Regions from separate parts of the Homo sapiens genome. Here region 1 is linked to region 2. Evidence: promoter capture Hi-C in 16 types of primary human blood cells and fetal thymus (Javierre and others, 2016). All regions are on one chromosome and are shown on one strand. Each heading gives the region's core, a stretch centred on a gene start or on the middle of the fragment in contact. The rest is flanking DNA. Distances are from core to core; before and after follow the strand shown.

Evidence for each region. The method cuts DNA at HindIII sites, captures the fragments that hold promoters and counts their contacts. A CHiCAGO score of 5 or more calls a contact.
Region 1: a fragment that was not itself captured here is called in contact with the fragment with the promoter of OR9K2 in region 2 in 2 of 17 cell types (activated CD4 T cells and naive CD4 T cells); the score reaches 5.4 in activated CD4 T cells.

The regions. Positions count from the first base shown.
Region 1 is chr12:54,600,742-54,604,651 of GRCh38, forward strand. No RefSeq gene overlaps it. Among named protein-coding and RNA genes, the nearest start is that of PPP1R1A, 14 kb to the left of the region's middle. The HindIII fragment of the contact is 2,544 bases long and covers 442-2,985 here.
Region 2 is chr12:55,124,035-55,128,110 of GRCh38, forward strand. OR9K2 (olfactory receptor family 9 subfamily K member 2) reads left to right here and starts at 2,372. Exons shown (of 3, transcript NM_001005243.2): 1 at 2,372-2,482; 2 at 2,794-2,877. It also overlaps the pseudogene LOC644383. The HindIII fragment of the contact is 7,142 bases long and covers 973-4,076 here.

The DNA of each region.
Region 1 (3,910 bases), core at 464-2,963, 520 kb before region 2:
CCATGCCCAGCTAATTGTTTTTATTTTAGAGACAGGGTCTTGCTATGTTGCCTAGTCTGGTCTTGAAAACCTAGCCTCAAGCGTTCCTCCCACCTTGGCCTCCCAAAGCTCTAGAATTACAGGCATGAGCCACCACACCTGGCCTTAAAATGTTATTTTAGATTAGGCAATATCAGTTGAAAGATGGGAGAAGAAAGAAGAAAAAACGGGTATCAGTTGAAAGTTGGGAGAAGAAAGAAAAAAAAGGGAGATTAAGCAATAGAGAGAAAATTCAAAACAAGACATTGGGAATACCAAGGAATTTACTGACCACTGATCAGGAGTTCTAGAGGGCATAGTAAAAGGGTTTGGCAGAGAGAGACTGGGCAGAGAGAATTGGGCTAGATTTGGGGCTGACAGAGCCAAACAGGGTAGGGGTTCTGGATGACAAATATATCTGAAAGCTTTGGCTTGGTCCTGGAAGTGACTGTGGTCAACAGAGAGACAGAACCCAAGGATCTTGGTTGCCCACCTTTCTACAAGAGGAATCAGGACAAGGAATAGACCTTGGTGCCTACCTGAATGGTTTCAAGGCCTTTGGTGACTGATTCCTATGGCTTAAGGGGGGATGTGAGTGGTGGCTAATCCCATGGGAGATGTGTGGGAGCAGAATAACTAATGGCCCCACAAAGAGGTCCACGTCGGAAATCACAGAACCTGTAAGTGTGTTGGGTTACACTGGCAACAGAGAATTAAGGTTGCAGATTGAACTGAGGTTGCTAATCAGCTGGTCTTAAAATAGGGAAATTCTCCTAGATTATCTGGGTGGGCCTGGTATAATCTCAAGCATCCCTAAATGTGGACAAAGGATTCCAAAGAGATAACTAGACTGATGGCAGGGTGAGAAGCCTTGGCCGGATGGGGCTGGCTTTGAAAATGGAGGAATGGGGCCATGGGCCAAAGACTGTGGACAGCCTTTAGAAGCTGGAAAGGGCAAGGAAATGAATTCTCCCCTAGAGACTCCAGAAAGGAACGCAGCCCTGCCTGCTGACATGCCTTGATTTTAGCCCAGTGAGACCCATCTGGAACTCCTGAACTACAGAACTGTAAAATAATTAATTTGTGTTGTTTTAAGCTGGTAAATTTGTGGTAATTTGTAATTAGAAAACTAATACAAGATGAAAGGCTCTCTTCTGGGTGACTGCTCCTTCCCACAGGGTGAGATGCTATGACAGCTGGTGAGACAGAACATTTATTACACCACGTTTCACCAGGGGGCGGAGTTAATGCATCAACAGGAATGTTCCTCAACAGCTTTGCCTCTTTCCCTCCTGCCCTCTCTCATGAGGGTGCACACTTGGACAGGACTTCACCTTCCCACCTCTTCCCTGGGGGATGCATGCTGTTTCTCTCACCGTTTAGTGGCTCAGGCAGGACAGAGAGAAGGCCCCTTTTGGGCTTGTGTCTCGATAGCATTCTCCAGCTCAGCCTTGCCAGAGAGGTCAGAGTGCTGTGGGTTCCCCGGCACTTGTCTGGCTGTTAATACAATCGATGTTTTGGTTTCCTTTTTGCTCCTTGTTCTCTGGACACCTTCTCCATTGGCCAGACTCAGAGGGGCAGAGGGATGACGTGCTGGTGGCCCTCCCTGGAGCTGTGATGGTGAAGTCAAAGACTGGCCTTGGGGGACCCAAATACAGTGGATTTTAACAGCAAACACTCTAAAGGTAACTCTGACCTGCAGCTGCGTGGGTGCAGCTGAGGCTGGAATGAAATTATCCCAATTCCACTTGGGTACAGAGCATAAGGCTGTGAAATTTTGGCTTCAGATGATGTGTGTTAATATTTAGTAGGTGATGCTAGGTTGGCTGTCCAACTGATTGTCTAGTTTGGTTTCTTTTATGTTGTTGTTCACTTTTTTCCTAGTTTTCATTTAACACGTTTCTCTTGTTCTTTTTTCTCACCCACAGATGCAGGTCCCAATGTGTGCTTTGTTTTGAACTGCATTTAGGGTGGCAGGAAGACTCAGGAGGGATTTTGTTTATGGCCTGATCACAGGCTCCTGGGATTATTTCCTACCACGTAGTCTCAAAGTGGCTTGGGGTTGTACATTTATGAAGCTCCAGCCAGGGTTTCAGATTTCAGAGTCCCACTGTGGGATTAACCACAGAGGTGTGGTCGACTTCATACAGATAAAAATAATGGGATCCTTTATGTGGAGGAAATGTCACTGGGTGAAAGTGAAGAAAAACTCCATGGAATTACTATAAACTTGAAGAGTATGGGAGAAATGAACAAGTCCTGTACCTGGAAAACTCTTTAGAAATCATATTTTCCTAAGAATCAGGGAAACGTGGGGTTCATATAAGGTACAAGTCTTGGTCTTATAGTGAGACAAGTCAGACAGAAAGGGAAAAGAAAAAAGAGGGCAGTTCTGTTGATTGAGTTGGGAGAAAAGATGAGATTTTCTCAGGAGAAAGTTTGAGTTCATAGAGCCCATGCTTGAGATACATTAAAAGAGAAGGGAAATGGCTCTATGCCTAGATAGTTTTAAGGATGGAACTAGAAGAGAGCAGAATATTTATTTATTTCTAGATCACGGAGGGTGAATGGGGCCTGGAGAGATTTAACAACGATGCAAAACAGTTTGAGGCCGCTAGAGGGAGCGTTGACCCAGTCACTTGCACAGAGTGAGGGAAGACGAACAGGAAGTTTAGTGGTGAAACATTATTAGGTAAGTTTCAAAGGAATGCAGGTTTTTTTTTTTTTTAATGGGGGTTTGGGGGCTGTTATTGCCCATGTCCTGAGGAAGCATGCCACAGAATTACTGAGAAGATGAAATACACTCTAAAGGGAATTCATGCGTGAAATAAATAGATCTAGTCACGTCTGAGATTCTATGTTTTCTAAAAATTTTTAATTTTTTAATTGACAAATCATAGTTGTATACATTTAAGGGGTACAATGTGATGTTTCGATATATGTATACATTGTGGTATGATTGAATCAAGCTTAAACTTCTAAATATCATAAGATGATAGAAATATCCTAAGCCCCCACTTTGAAAGAAGAGGCTGTATACATGACCCCACCCTCTGAAGGCAAACTTAATGCCAACATTAGTCACTCCACGAGAGATTTCTCCCACTTGTGAAGTCAAGGCTTTCTCTCTTCTTGCAGATACCACTTAGTTTCTGCCACAGTATGATGCTGGCATTAGCCATGGGATTCCTGCACAGCTCAAGTGCCCCATGTGTCTTTTGAGCCTTGAGGAGGAGACTGACATGGAGATGCCTTGCCATCCCCTCTTCCAACGCAACTGAACCTTCCCTGGTTAAGCAAGACAAATTCCTCCCGCTATGCTGCCGTGAGCTGCTCACTGATAATGACATGTAGGAGGAACACAGATGAGATGAGGCCCACAAGCAGCAGCAGAAGTGTGGCTGGAGAACCTGCATGGAGCCAGGTATACCTGAGGCACTGCGGCTGAGCGCTGGCCCTCCATGACATCTCTCTCTGCACCTTGAACCTGTGTAGAAGGTTTTTTTCTTCCACCTTCTACCCCTGCAAAACAAACAAACAAACAAACAAACAAACAAAACAACCCTTAAAAGCCCCACAAAAAACCATGCACTAGGGCCTGGGCACATAATTGCTCTGGGGCCTGAGAATGTGCTTGTGTTTCTGAGTTTGGTTGGTGCAGAGCTGGTGCATGGTATTTCGTGTATCCTAGTTACTCTAACTTTGAAAAGGAGGGACCCATGAGCTCCTTGGGGTTGGATTAAGTCAACCTTGTAGATGCCAGAGGAACTACTCACATTTCAGGGGGAAAAAGACCAGGAGGGAGCCAGTCCCCTGCCTCCAGGCATAGCAGCCTTTCCCCTGACTCCCAGGGAACATGCCCCATGCTGGTGGCTCTGTGTCCTCCTCATCC
Region 2 (4,076 bases), core at 1,122-3,621:
AGGTGATGAATTCCTTAGTGTGGGTTTCCTCCACAAGAGTCCACAGCTTGCTGAGGAAAGTTGGCAGTTCAAACTCTGCTTCCTTGTTAACAGGTGCACAGGGATTCCAAATTCTACATCCAAATGCGGTGGTAGCATCGGCGGCAGCGACCGGAATAATTTATTAAAGATTCAGTTGTTGGACCAACTGGATGTCATTACTTTAGAAAGGTGAGTAACTGTCATCCAGGATATAATCTGTGCTCTTCATTAGCGACAAATATATGAAACAATTACAGGTCCAAGTACAAGGAGTCAAAATGGGATTGTCAGCCACCACTGTAAAACCTATCAACTCACTCTCAATTTTTTTTTGCTGGATGCTTGCATGACATTTGTCCCTGCTGAATGAATATTCTTACTGCTTAACGGAGAGATAATTTTACTAGGGGAACACAACAATTGATAAAATGAGCTCTAAATTCAGTCTCCTTACTGAATTTACATTCATTTTGCTGAACCAACTGAGAGGTGAAGCTGGCTGGGCTTCTGGGTGGGGTGGGGACTTGGAGAGCTTTTCTGTTTAGCTAAAGGATTGTAAACACACCAATCAGCACTCTGTGTCTAGGTAAAGGTTTGTAAATGCACCAATCAGCACTCTGTAAAAACGGACCAATCAGCACTCTGAAAAATGGACCAATCGGTGCTCTGTAAAATGGACCAATCAGCAGGACGTGGGTGAGGACAAATAAGGGGATAAAAGCAACCCACTAGATTCCCCTTCCACCCTGTGGAAGCTTTGTTTTTCAGCTTAGCAACAAATCTTGCTGCTGCTCACTCTTTGGGGCCCTGCTGCCCTTATGAGCTGTAAAATTCACCACCAAGGTCTGCAGCTTCACTCCTGAAGCAAGCCAGACTACAAACCCACCCGAAGAAAGAACAGCTCTGGAGGTGCCACCTTTATGAGCTGTAACACTCATTGCAAAGGTCTGAAGCTTCACTCCTTTTTGTTTTTTTTCTTTTCTTTTTTTGTTTTTGTTTTTTAATTATTATTAGACTTTAAGTTCTAGGGTACATGTGCGCAACGTGCAGGTGTGTTACATATGTATACATGTGCCATGTTGGTGTGCTACACCCATTAACTCATCATTTACATTAGGTATATCTCCTAATGCTATCTGTCCCCCCCCGCCACCTCAGGACAGGCCCCGGTGTCTGATGTTCCCCACCCTGTGTCCAAGTGTTGTAGTTGTTCAATTCCCACCTATGAGTGAGAACGTGCGGTGTTTGGTTTTCTGTCCTTGCCATAGTTTGCTGAGACTGATGGTTTCCAGCTTCATCCGTGTCCCAACAAAGGACATGAACTCATCCTTTTTTATGACTGCATAGTATCCCATGGTGTATATGTGCCACATTTTCTTAATCCAGTCTATCATTGTTGGACATTTGGGTTGGTTCCAAGTCAGCGAGACCACAAACCCACCGGGAGGAACGAACAACTCCAGACATGCCACCTTTAAGAGATTTTAAGAGCTGTAACTCACTTTTGAAGTCAGTGAGACCACAAACCCACCAGAAGGAAGAAACTCTGGACACATCTAAATATCTGAAGGAACAAACTCCGGACACACCACCTTTAAGAACTTTAACACTCACCGGAAGGAACCAACAGTTCTTTAAATTATTTTGAACTATATACAGGGACTGATGAGAAGTTACTAACTTAATACATGACACCTGAATAAACAACTTTAAAGCAATTAAAATTACAATATAAACCCAACTTTAGATCCAGTTAATCATGTGGCCTTTACTTGATGGATTAGAGGGCGTTTGTTGGATTTTTGCCCATATCATGGTCGTGCTGTTCTATCTTTCTTCTCAATTACTATTGAGAAAATATAGTTTAAAAAGTCATCAAGGAGAGATTTGGGTGAATAGAATTCTGAAAGTAAATATGAAATTAACTTTATGATTAGGACTCAAAATTTTCCTACAAATGGCATTATGAACCACAACATTTCCTTTCGTATCTATTTCTACTTGCTTATCAAAAACTGTGCTATAATGATAAATTGAAAATGCTGCTTTTTCAGTGAAGAAATTAAAATTAAAAGATCCTTGTGATTTTTCCTAAAGAATGTCTCATATGTACTTTAAGTACTCTTAGGCTTTTTAAAAAAATATAGAATCTCTGAGGTCTTCATGGATCTTGCTTTTAGATCCTAGAAGTCTTACTAATTAATTGACTTGTGTTCTTCTCTCCCAGAGGTACTGTCTCCCAGAACATAGAGGAAATCTCAATACTGTAATTATATGAAAAAGCTGTAGCAAAACCGAAGCCCTCGTGGATAACTGCTGTTGATATTTTGGCAGTATTCAGAGATGCCAAAGAGCTCAGGACCTCTACTTGCATATCCATGGCAATCTATCCTCTTGCCTTGAAAGCATACAAGTTTCTGAGAATTCAGGATAGATAATATCTTGTGGATTGATTCCTCAGGTTCACTTTGCTTATCTATAGATTTTTGTTCCTGGAATCACTTCAGTTTTGGCAGAACATGATTTGAAAAATTCACCTTGACTCTCTTCTAAAAAGGACTATAAAACTTTTCAGGAAATCAACTACTGAAAAAAAGACTTTTTAAAATAGAGCAATGAGGCACATAAGCCACATTTATCTATGGGAAGAATCTAAAACTGTAATAATAAATGTGGATTTGTGGGGAATGATTCATTTTATTTCAAAGTAATTATTTTTCAGTATTTATAATTATGACAGTCATTAATTAACTTTATGTTTATCCTTTCTAGAATTAAAACAATAAACAGAGGAAAACATTGGAACTCTGCTGATTGATTTTTACCAGAATCTGACCAGTTACTAAACAATACAAGGTAAAAGTAACTTAAAACCTGTAAGTTTTTGAAAAATAAGTCACAAACTGACTACTTGTTGTTGGCTTCTGCGGGAATAACTCCCTTTTCCAGGTAAAAAATGTCATCAGCAATGCATTTATTAACATTTATAATGTTACAATGTTTATAACATTTATGATATAAATTTATTTTAATAAGTTTGTTTTTTTATATTCTCTGATTCCACATACTCATTATCATTCAGCTTTTTTCTACGTAATAATATGTATTGAATTATTGTCATTCACTAGATTCAGAACATTATGTTGACAATACGCAGCAAACAAGCTGAGTTTGATGTTAAGGATATTATTGTCAAGTGAGGAATAATTACTATTAATAATAATATTAAATTCTAATGTTGAAATGAGTTTGATAGAAATAAATCTTAGAAATTAAAATAATCTGTTTTGCTTCTAGATGAGAATAAAATGAAGATAAATTATATATATTATTTTTCAAAAAATGATTTTTCATGCTGACTTCAGTCAGCTTTCTTTCACTTCTTAAATGTCTCACATCTTTCCAGACCCTAAGTGCAATCTAATGTAAGCTCTTACTACTTCTTAATTACTTACATATTTAATTTTTGATAAAATGGGTGAATATTTTATTTTCAACATTTAATACAGTCTTAAATAATGATAACATCTTATTCAGCTTTTCTCTTAATAATCTTTTTTCTCAGGCAAAATATTCCATTTCTCCAAGAGTTCTTCATCTCTCTAAACTTTTAACAGATTGATTCTTCCCCTCAACTGAGAATGTTTTGTCCAAAAACGACCATATATATTATTGGTTTTCAACCTAATAAGCACTATTTGGTATGAATAGTGGGACTGAGCACTGAAACGTATAATAAAAATAATGGCTAACATTTACTGAATACTTAGTTTACCATAAATGGTGCTAAGTGATTTACATACGTATGTCATTTTCTATTCCCAAGAAAACTTTGAGGACTCTTATTTCCACTTTATATATGAGAATACAGTAGCATAGAGAGAGAGCATAAGTAACTTGTCCAAGATCCCATTTAGAAAGTGAGAGAAGCAGAACTGGAGCCTAGATTTATTTAAACCTAAAACCCATACTAACCACTGCAGTATTGGATGGATAGTTTTTATATTTTTCTCTGTTTCTGCATGATCATTATCATTCAACTTTTATCTATAGTA